Regions from separate parts of the Homo sapiens genome. Here all the other regions are linked to region 2. The links are contacts of gene promoters, found by promoter capture Hi-C in blood cells and fetal thymus (Javierre and others, 2016). All regions are on one chromosome and are shown on one strand. The core of a region is centred on a gene start or on the middle of the fragment in contact, and the rest is flanking DNA. Distances in the headings are between cores, read along the strand shown.

Region 1 (3,732 bases), core at 215-2,714, 660 kb after region 2:
CACCACACTGGGCTAATTTTTGTATTTTTAGTAGAGACAGGATTTCACCATGTTCGCCAGGCTGGTCTCAAACCCCTGACCTCAGGTGATCTGCCCGCCTCGGCCTCCCAAAGTGCTGGGATTACAGGAGTGAACCACTGCACCTGGCCAAATTATTATATTTTTTATGTTGAGTTGTCTATAAATGTTTTAACATTGAAATATTTTGTATTGGGCCGGGCGCGGTGGCTCACGCCTGTAATCCCACCACTTTGGGAGGCCAAGGAGGGCGGATCACGAGGTCAGGAGATTGAGACCATCCTGGCTAACATGGAGAAACCCCGTCTCTACTAAAAATACAAAAAATTAGCCGGGCGTGGTGGCAGGGCGCCTGCAGTCCCAGCTACTCGGGAGTCTGAGGCAGGAGAATGGCGAGAACCCGGGAGGCGGAGGTTGCAGCGAGCCAAGATTGCCCCACTGCACTCTAGCCTGGGTGACAGATCCGAGACTCTGTCTCAAAAAAAAAAAAAAGAAATATTTTGTATTAATATTTCCATGGTGGGGCAGAAACTCCAGTAAAATCAACCCTTTAGATGCTGCGGATGTGTTTGTTCAGGGACTGTGTACTCCCAATACATGACCCGCCGTCAGTTTGAGAAGCTTAGATTGTCCCCACCATTGACAGATGAGGAAAATGAGGCCCCTAGCCAGCTTTTTAAAATGTTCAATAGAACTCTTTTTATTGAGATAAAGTTTATGTACCATAAAATACGCCCTTTTAAAGTGTACAATTCAGAACATTGTCATCAGCCCCAAAAAGAAACTTTGTACCATTAGCAGTCATTCTCCCATGTTCCCCTCCTCTCAATCCCTGGCAACCAATCCACTCTGCCTTTATGGATTTGCCTATTTAGGACATTTCATGTAAATGGAATCGTGTTAATCTGTGGCATTTGGTGTCTGGCTTCTTACACTTACTTCGGTATTTTCAAGGCTCATCTATGTTCTGCCGTGTGTTAGTACTTCATTCCTTTTTATGGCTGAACTGTATTCTGTGGTATGAATAGTCCACATTTTATTTATTCATTCATCAGTTTATAGCCATTTAGGTTGTTTCCATGTTTTGGCTATTATGAATAATGCTGCTATGAATATTGATATATGAGTTTTTGTATGGAGATATGTTTTCAATTATCCAGAAATGTATAGCTAGGAGTAGAATTTCTGGGTTATATGGTAACTCTATGTTTAACTTTTTGAGGAACTGCCAAACTGTTTCCCACAGAGGCTGTGTCATTTTACATTTCCGCCAGCAATCTGGGAGGGTTCCAATATTCCCATACCCTTGCCAACATTTGTCTCTCTCGCTTTTTTTTTCTGAGACAGACTCTGTTGCCCAGGCTGGAGCGCAGTGGCTTGATCATGACTCATTGCAGCCTTGAACTCCCAGGTTCAAGCGATCCTCCACCTCAGCCTCTCGAGTAGATGGGACTACAGGTGCATGTCATGACACCTGGCTAATTTTTTTTTAATTAAAATTTTTTGTAGAGATGGGATCTCACTATGTTGCCCAAGCTGGTCTTGAACTCCTGGGCTCACATGATCCTCCTGTCTTGGCCCCCAAACTGCTAGGATTACAGCTGTGAGCCACCATGCCCAGTCTGCCCCTCTTTTTTTATTACAGCCATCCTAGTGTGTATGAAATGATATTTCACTGTGGTTTTGATTTGCATTTTCCTAATGGCTAATGATGTTGAATATCTTTTCTTGTGCTTATTGTCCATTTACATATCATCTTTGAGAAATGCCTATTCAAGTCCTTTGCACATTTTAAAATTATTATTATTACTATTATTTTTTTGAGACAGTCTCGCTTCGCCCAAGCTGGAGTGCAGTGGTGCAATTCCAGCTCACTTCAACCTCCACCTCCTGGGTTCACACAATTCTCCTGCCTCAGCCTCCCGAGTAGTTGGGATTGCAAGCGCCTGCTACCACACCAGCTAATTTTTGTATTTTTAGTAGAGACTGGGTTTCACCGTGTTGGTCAGGCTAGTTTCAAACCCCTGACCTCAAGTGATCCATCTGCCTCGGCCTCCCAAAGTTCTGGGATTACAGGTGTAAGCCATTGTGCTCAGCCAAATTATTATGTTTTTTTATTGTTGAGTTGTCCATAACTGTTTTAACATTGAAACATTTTGTATTAATATTTCCACGGTGGGGCAGAAACTCCAGTAAAATCAAGCCTTTAGATGCTGTAGCGTGTTTGTTCAGGGACTCTGCACTCCCAATATGTGACTCCCCATCAGTTTGAGAAGCTTAGATTGCCCCCAGCATTGACAGATGAGGAAAATGAGGCCTGTACAAGTTAGGAAACTGGCTGGGTGTAGTGGCTCATTCCTGCAATCTCAACACTTTGGGAGGCTGAGGCGGATTGCTTGAGCCCAGGAGTTCAAGACCAGCCTGGGCAACATAGCAAGACCCCATCTCTACAAAAAAATAAAAAATTAGCCAAGGGTGGTGGCATGCACCTGTAGTCCCAGTTACTCAGGATGCTGAGGTGGGAGGATTATTTGAGCCCAGGAGTTCAAGGCTCCAGTGAACTATGATTGCACCACTGCACTCCATCCTGGGTGACAGGAAGATCTTGTCTCTTAAAAAAAAAAAAGAAGAAAAAAAAATGTTGACCGGGTGTGGTGGCTCATGCCTCTAATCCTAGCACTTTGGGAGGCCAAGGCGGGCAGATCACCTGAGGTCAGGAGGTCGAGACCAGCCTGGCCAACATGGTGAAACCCCATCTCTACTACAAATACAAAAATTAGCTGGGCATAGTGGTGTGCGCCTGTAATCCCAGCTACTCAGCAGGCTGAGGCATGAGAATCGCTTGAACCTGGGAGGCGGAAGTTGTAGTGAGCCGAGATCACGCCACTGCACTCCAGCCTAGATGACAGAGTGAGACTCTGTCTCAACAACAACAATAACAACAAAAGTTAGGAAACGTGTTCAAATTACACAGCCAAGTCTTATGTAGAATAGTGGGAAACTGGGGAGATTTACCTGGAGGAGAGGAGCAACAAGGTTTCAGTTCCCGGCTCTTGAAAGGCTGCGACAAACAAGACAACCAGAATGTTTTTGTGGCCTCAGAGCCAGAATCAGAGATTGCACTCTCAGAGGGAGACATGTCAATGGGAAAGGCCTCCTGACAACAGCTACAGCCTAGCATGACGGAGGCGGCTTGGGAAACATTGAACTATGTCTGGACAATCCACTGGCAGGAAAATCATAGGAAACTGTAGGGGCCATCTGATGCTTGGCCTCTTCGGCATCTATTTCCCCTACCTTTTTTCCCTTCGAATAGGGCCTCAATTTCCTTTTGAGGATCTGCATGGTTCTAGGAGTGGAACTTAGAGTAACTAGACTTAGCCGAAGTCTACCAGTGCCTCTCATCCCTCCATTAATGTGGTTCAGGGTATGCATGTGATTAGCTGGTCCAATTAGAATACATCTCAAAACTTTTGGTGGGAACACAGAACACTTTCTCTTTCTTTCTTCCTTCCCTCCCCTCCCTCTCTTCTTCTTCTTCTTTTTTTTTTTTTTTTTTTTTTTTTGTTTTTGAGACGGAGTTTTGCTCTGGTTGTCCAGGCTGGAGTGCAGTGGTGCGATCTCGGCTCACTGCAACCTCCACCTCCTGGGTTCAAGCGATTCTCCTGCCTCAGCCTCCCGAGTAGCTGGGATTACAGGTGCCTGCCACAACAC
Region 2 (3,630 bases), core at 624-3,123:
AAGGAGGATCTAGAGTACTTGAGTTGGTTAAAAAAAGTTCTGGGTACAAAAGTATACTAGAAATAGTGTACTGTAAGATCTCAGCTGTGTTCAGGAGTCTGCAGAGAAGTGGAACCCACGCAGAGCAGTGGCCATCTCAGGGAACACCGGGGGACACATATGATTGTATTTTCTTTCAGATTTCTTCACTAGGCTTGCCCTACTTCTTGATGGATGGATGAACTTTACAGAAAACAGAAACAGCTCTCCTCTGGGCTGAGCTGTGATTGGGAGCCTGTAAGCAGCAGAGCACTGCCTGTCCTGCTAAGGAGAGCCAGCACTCCCATATTCATTAATTCATATCATCCTCACATCAATCATGGGAGTCTCACCCTCCCCATGCCATGGATAAGAAACAGAAACAGAGGAGTAATGCTTTGCTCAGTGCATTACTGACAGGCTCACTTAGTCCTCACCCTGTCCAGCCTCCCTGACCCCATGTCCCGAGGGTGACCTCCCTGACTGGTCAGTGTGGCTTTCCCTAGCCTGGCCTGTGACCAGCAGCATGAGGAAGTGGGGATTGGAGTGCTGCAACAAGTGATTTGGATTTTAGCAGAGTTCCTGTTTGCCTGGCCAGGGCATGCCTGGGGAGGACTGGGTGGCCCAGCCCACTCAGTCCCCAGACTTTACCTCCCACTGTTGAGCGTTTCCTCGATGGGTCTCCTGGGCTGCAGTCCTTCTCCAACAGCTCTCGTTTTCCTGCCTGGCTGTCATCTCCGGGCCCTGACACTGGCAGGTGACCGCAGGTGGCCCTCCGCTCCCTGCTGCAGCCTGCTGTGGTCCTTGCCCATTCATGGCATGTCCAGGCCAGAACCTCACAGGGCTCTGGAGCCACAGGGTCTCCCTGGTTCTCAGGGCAGGCCTTGCTGGGCCATCCCCAGCCTGCGCAGGCCTTCACCAGTGCCCCTGGTGATAAGGGTTCCAGGGGCCCAACACCTGGGCTGCTTCTCCTAACACTCAGCAGCAGGAGATAAATAAGAATAGAAGGAAGGAAGAAAAGGAGGGAAGGGGAGTCTACCAACTCCAGGCCTCCCCACTCCTCTTCCTAAGTCTTCAGCCCCCACCCAGGTCTCTACATCTCCTCAGAACCTCCCTCTGTCCCTCAGTTGTCAAGGCTCAACATGGGGTCAGGGCCAGAGTGCAGTGTGGGTCAACTTCAGCATGAGGTCAGGGTCCTGGCTTAGACTGAAGTCAGAGTCAGTGTTCAGGCTGGGGCAGAGATTGAGGGCAGCCAGGGTCAGAAAATGGTCCTCCAGCCCTTCCAGGGACAGCCCACTTCTGTCCTGTGGGGCTGAAGATGCTGGCTTCTTCTGGAACCCTCCATAACACTGCCGGCTGGCAGCTCTGACCATACCATCCCCTGCTCTCCAGCTCTGGTGTCCAGGGTGACCAGAGCCGCCTCTGGGCAGGAAGCCAAGCCAGAAAGCCCAGGACATCCCTGAGCGCCTGTCACCATGGCAACCTGCCCGCTCTGCCCCCCCCCCAAACTCAAATCCAGTATATTTTTCAAATCCAGCATGACAGAATGGGAAGGGCCTCCTAGATCAGCAGATTCCAGTCCCACCCCCTTGTCCCAGATGGAGAAACTGAGGCCCATTTGCAGAAGGGAGGGGGACCTGTTGATTAGGGACCTGGCCCCAGCCTGTCCTCCCTCCCGCCCACCCCCACCTCAGTGTCCCTGGGGATGCGGAAGGTGGGGGCAGGGAGGGGGAGCCTGCGGCCCGATCTCCCGGGAAGGAGGGGGCGGGCCCTCCACCGCAGCGATGGCGGGGGCGGGCGGCGCGGGAACCTGACACCGAGGATGAATAAATGATGCTCGCTGACTACCCGTGGCCAAAGCCCGTGGCCACCGAGCGCCGGCTGGCAGGGGCAGTGACCGGCGGCCGGCCCGTTCGTCCCTGGGCTCCGCAAGCGGCGCGGTGGCACGAAGATGGCGGGGTGGCCGGGCGCGGGTCCCCTCTGCGTGCTGGGCGGCGCCGCACTCGGGGTGTGCCTCGCGGGGGTTGCCGGGCAGCTGGTGGAGGTGAGGCCGCGGCACGGAGGGACTGGGGAGGCTGTCACCCTCCAGGCAGGGGGCTGGGGGAGAGGGGACGCCTTTTTGATCCGGAGCTTGTTTGATCCCTTACTCTTGCCCTGAGAGATCCAGTCTCCCGGGCGATGCAGCCCTGCCCCAAGCCCTGCCAGGCTGTGAGAGAGACTCAGCCCCACTCTTAGGGTCCCTGGTCTGATGGAAGGGCACAGTACCCGATTTCTGGAACATTAGTCTGACGGGGGAGACTCACCTTGACCTTAGGGATTCCCAGCCTGACTTGGGGACACAGCCCTGCCCAGACTGATGGGGGATACTGGGCCCCCATCCTCCAGCCTTTGGTCTCACTGGCAGGGAGGTGCACAGCCCTGGGTTTCCTGGACCTCTAGTCTGATGGAACAGACCCTGAATTTAGGGTCTTCTGGAGGCAACAGCCTCTATCTCCAGAGATGTTCCAGGGACCCCTGTCTAATGGAGGGGGAGACATAGCCTTAAGATGGAGACGAGGGCATTCCAAGTTGGAGGGTGGGGGCAGCAGGATGAGGAGACCCTTTACAGAGAAGCTATGTGGAGCACTAGGTCCAGAGGGGCAGGCAGGGCAGGACCTAGGGACTGGGAAGTCTGACTTGGTCCTGGTGATAACCGGGAGCTTTAGAAGGTTTCTGCTCAGGGACAAGTCATGATGAGTTCTGGTTTGGAAGGAGGGTAAATTGGGAGCAGGCACACAGTGGGAGAGGTGGGAGGAGCTGCTGAGATAGCACAGAAGCTGGGGGAGAGCCCTGGTGGAGAGCCTGGCTGGGGCCAGGAAGGGTGGGGCCATCTGTAGCCTCCCTAACCCCCTTGTACCCCACTCCTGCGGAGCCTGAAAGGGGAGCCAACGAGGGAGCTGGCAGACCAGACCTAGAGTTCTGAATTGTGAGGCCAGAGGGAGAAGGCCCAGGAGCCAGGGCCAGGGAGGAGCAGGGGATGGAGGCTGTGCAGGCAGGGGCGGACCAGAGGGAGCAGGAAAACAGAAATGCAAGAGGCAGTGAGAGGTGCCCAGGGAAGTCCTGAGGGGTGGGGGCTTGGGGACAGTGTGGGATAGAGAGGACAGAGCCATGGGGAAGTTGTTATGGGGGGACACAGCCCTGAACTGGAGGGTTTGATGGGGACATAGGGACAGAGCCCTGGACCCAGATGTAGCCTGTCCCTGCTGTTGCCCAGAGGGCATGACCACAAGGCTGGGCTAGAGTCAGGTGTCAGCTCCAGTGTCCCTGTAAGGGGAGCTATGCTGGCTTGAGCCCTGTGAGGCGTACTTGGGCCCCTCACAGGCTGCCCTGAGGCCTGGGTACAGAAACTGAGCTGGCCTAGGTGCAGACAGAAAGCTGGGGGTGGGGGTTAAGTCAGTTCTCAGCCAAGGACTCTTCTCCCTCACCCCCAGGAACTCATCTTTTCCCAGTTCTAGGGAAATTGCATTTGGAGGCCATCTGCCTGACATCTGCCTACAGTCTGAGCAAGGCCTTAGCTCTTCCCTCACGGAAGCACCAAAGACATGGGCAGGGCTGGGGGCCATGTCACCACCC
Region 3 (4,009 bases), core at 562-3,061, 640 kb after region 2:
AGATTACAGGAGACCCAGCTCTCATACAGGTTCTGTCACTACCTAGCATTGCATCCTTGGGCACATCCTTTTTGTTTCCTTAGATGCAAACAGAAAGGGTTAGGTGAGGTGACCTCTCCCTGTCCCCATACACCAAAGAGCAGGCCTGCAGCAGAGGGAATACTGGGAGAGCTCCTTGTCCCCATACCTCCCACAGGAGTTTGACATCATGGGGGGCTGCTGTGCCCTGCACGGTCACTCCATGGACTGAGCTTTGCCTCTGACTGTCCTGTACCTGTGCCTCTCTCCCCACTGCAGGTGGAACACTACAACCACCACACAGCCACCTGGCACCCTGCAGCTGGCATGCTCAACAAGCGCTGCCGGCACGGAGCCGCCTCCCTGGGGAGCAAGATGTTTGTCTGCGGGGGCTACGATGGCTCTGGCTTCCTCAGCATTGCCGAGATGTACAGCTCTGTGGCAGACCAGTGGTGCCTGATTGTCCCCATGCACACGCGCAGGAGCCGGGTCTCCCTGGTGGCCAGCTGTGGGCGCCTCTACGCTGTTGGGGGCTACGACGGACAGTCAAACCTAAGCTCAGTGGAGATGTATGACCCAGAGACAGACTGCTGGACATTCATGGCCCCCATGGCGTGCCATGAGGGAGGGGTCGGTGTGGGCTGCATCCCTCTCCTCACCATCTAAGGCAGAGGATGGGATGTGGTGGGGCAGGGATCTGGTACAGACATAGGCGCTTCCTTCCAGGAACAGTCCCTCAGGAGAGGCAGTGGACCAGAAGAGATGGCGAAACGTGAGCTCGCCGGAGGTACAGTTTTTCCAGGTGCTTAAGCCCTCCCCCACTGTGCCACCCTTGTGACCTTCAGGCTTGGGTCATCAAGATGCACAGCATGGAACACAAGCTCCTCTGGATCCTGCAGCTGGTGACATGGAACTGTTTTCTGGTCCACATGAACACAGGCTCCATCCAGGCCCAGCTCCTACCCACCGCCTCTCTGTGGGCCAGCTGTTCACAGAAGGCCTTCCATCTGATGCTCCCCATCGCCTGCTTGCTCTCCAGCCGAGTCTGGCCAATTTGCCATGGGGAGGCTGCAGTGTCCAAGCCTGCTGGAAACTGGGATGTAGCTGGGGACGAAAGGACAGACCCAAGCGTTCTCCCTGCCTGAGATGGTGTGGCCACAGCAGTGGAAGGCTGCACACAGGCACATTCCTTCTTCCACAGTGGGGCACCAAGGATTCTGTCCTCATTGCTGGGTAAGCAGGGAGAAGAGAAGTTTTCCCCATGTCTAATTTTGGGATTTCAGTGAGGCCTTTTGATCTGTCCAGGAGAACAGAAGGGAAAAAAAGATACTTGAAAGAAACTGAAGGAAATTTAAACAAAGAAACACTTGAAAGAAACTGGAAAGAAAAATAATTTTTTTATGTGAACAAATTTTGCAAGAAGAAAAAAGCATAAAAGACACTAACGGCAAATCTATGTTTAAATGGAAAATCGTCTAACTGGAGAAGGGCGGTATCCACCCCACATTCGGATCCCAGGGTCCTGAGGCCTCGCATTGAGCTGGGGGTTCCCTCTGAGCCCCAGTGTGTGTGGAATCAGTGCACTCTTGACTGGGCCTGTAGTAAGGTGCTCATGGGGTTTGTCTTCTCACCCACCATCAGAGGACTTTTAAAATCATAGGCGTAGAGAGTTAGGCTATCTGCTGAATTACTGCCACTCTTCTTGGTGGGGGCTCCTAGCTGTGGCTGGGGGCTCCAGGCGCCCCTGTGATTACCTCCTACTGCCACCATGGCGCTCATTCAGATTCCCCACTCTCACTAACATTGCTTCCTTTTTTGACCAGCAGGAAACAGCAGGTCTGGCCAGATTCTCACTTGCCCATCAATCTCGTTCTTGGATGATTTCCCTCATTGTGATGCTTCTGGGGCACGTTGACCATATGCACCTCTAGAACCTAACCAGGGCTTCCTTCTACCAGCTGTGGGCGGGCTTGGTCTGGTAACCTTGTCTGCTCTGCCATTCCACTGCTCCTCCATCCACTCGCCAATCCCAAGAGTCTGGCCTCCCTCCAGCCCTGGGCAGACTGACCAGCAAGGTGGACCTTTACATTCAAGCACAGCTGGCTTTTATGACATAAAGAACTAAAGGCCGAAAGAATCTCTTGCTGCTGCAAAGAACAGATTTTATATTTCTTCCTCTAATCTTGGCAAATGACCTTTACCTTTTGGAAAGATTTCATATTGCTTCCTCCTCCCTGGATAGGACCTAATGTAGCACAGCGGGACTCAAAGAGGAGGACATTTTCTCTTGCCAGTGCACTGGGCAGTGGGGCTGTCCTTCAACTGCTGCTGCCAAAATTGGTTTTCTAAAATTCTTCCAGTAGAGACTAAAAGAAGATTCAATTCCTGTAACCCAAGACTGAGTCTTAGGGCTCCAGTCTCCACCTGCTTGGTTTCCTATCCTTTGCTGCCTGCCTGGGGTGGCCTGGAAGCCTGTTCAGAAAGGCACAATGTGGAGCCTGGGGTGTCTCCCCCACCCCAGGACCGTCAGGTTTACCAGTGTGTGCAATCGCCATGTATTCAGAGGGAAGTACCTTTGTTACCTACAACTTAGGAGCTAGGCCTCTGCTACAAGCACTTGAAAATGATATTTTTATTTTTAACGTCTCAACAATCTGATATCGGATGTCGTTTAACCTGGGCTCGTGGTAGGGCTCCAGCATTTCTCCCTCCTTCCTGGTTTGCCTGTAGGGGTAGACTCGGAAGGTGGGTGGGGTGTGCATTTCCTGTTAGGAGTGTATCAGTGCTTGTCTTATTATAAGCCCCTTTCTTTTGTGAATTTGAAGTAGCACCAACAAGCCTGGATTGTGAAGGTATTAAGAATCGGTCTGTGGGCTACTGAGTGGGTCCTTAGGATACTGGCCCAGATTTTGCCACTGGGTATGGCAGATCATTTTCTACCATGGCCTGCTGCTCTTGTAGTGGACTTCCTGAGTCCAATCCCACCTCCTGGTGTAGAATTTACACTGCTGCACCTGAGGTCGATGTTTCAAAGTAAGATCAAGCCAGTGTTTTGATCTGGGCTCTGAGCACAAGTCAGGAAACACCAACATATTCACACTCTCCCAGTAGGTTCCTCAGTCCGATGGTGAATGGCTATTCGTAAATGGCTGGTCTGGCTCTTTGGTGTTGGAGCCTTTCCAATAGCCCCATGAAAAGAAGCATCACCCAAGGATATTGTAAAAAGGATGTAACAAGGAGATAGGGTAGACATTGTACTCAGTGGGCCTTGGGGCCTAGCCCAGCTCTGAGCAGAGGACTGTGGCATTCACTGTCCTTGAGTGTTTCACCTTCTTGGATAACACACGGGCCTTCTCTTCTGGATTTCATCAGAGATTACAGCCAGATGGGGGCTGAAGACCATCCTCTTGACCACAGAGGTGTGACTGTGGGAATTCCTCCCAATTTATGGTTTCCCAGAAAATCTTAGTTCCTTTTATTTATAGAATGCATGTCTTTTGTGTTAAGAAACCAAAGAGAAATAAAGAGAACACTCCTAATAGCTCTTGTCCTTTCTTGGTTTATTTCTCAGATATTAGAAGTACATGTTTGTTTTTTAATTGTGATTCACTGAAAAAAATATATTGGACAAAATGGGAATATTTCTGTGAATATAAGGGAAAAGCCAGATGTACAGCAAAAGTAGTCTTTGGAGAGATTTATTTTATGAGAGTCACTTCTGGTGAAAAATATGCAAAGACTTCATTTGCACTTTGGGACTGCATATTGGTGCCTGTCCTGATCGCCCCTACTCTCGGATTTCCCCTTTTCTCCATTCACTGCCCTAAAACTCCAGAGTTTCCCAGTGGAATGTGGCTGCCTGTTGACTGCCTGGAATCAGCATCTCCAGCTCCTTTTTTATGCTCTAGGCGAGAGGTGCTTTAACTTTGGTGCACATAAAAGTCACTGGAAAATGTTTAAACCACAGATCCGTTCCTAAGTCCCTCTCTAG

What was found. The method cuts DNA at HindIII sites, captures the fragments that hold promoters and counts their contacts. A CHiCAGO score of 5 or more calls a contact.
Region 1: a fragment that was not itself captured here is called in contact with the fragment with the promoter of TMIE in region 2 in 1 of 17 cell types (endothelial precursors); the score reaches 8.5 in endothelial precursors.
Region 3: a fragment that was not itself captured here is called in contact with the fragment with the promoter of TMIE in region 2 in 1 of 17 cell types (total B cells); the score reaches 5.9 in total B cells.

Annotation. Positions count from the first base shown.
Region 1 is chr3:47,364,612-47,368,343 of GRCh38, forward strand. No RefSeq gene overlaps it. Among named protein-coding and RNA genes, the nearest start is that of PTPN23, 15 kb to the right of the region's middle. The HindIII fragment of the contact is 1,655 bases long and covers 638-2,292 here.
Region 2 is chr3:46,699,519-46,703,148 of GRCh38, forward strand. TMIE (transmembrane inner ear) reads left to right here and starts at 1,874. Exons shown (of 4, transcript NM_147196.3): 1 at 1,874-2,062. The coding sequence starts at 1,970. The HindIII fragment of the contact is 54,343 bases long and covers 1-3,630 here.
Region 3 is chr3:47,343,258-47,347,266 of GRCh38, forward strand. It overlaps KLHL18 (kelch like family member 18), which reads left to right. Exons shown (of 10, transcript NM_025010.5): 10 at 298-3,559. The coding sequence ends at 684. Among named protein-coding and RNA genes, the nearest start is that of PTPN23, 36 kb to the right of the region's middle. The HindIII fragment of the contact is 8,623 bases long and covers 1-4,009 here.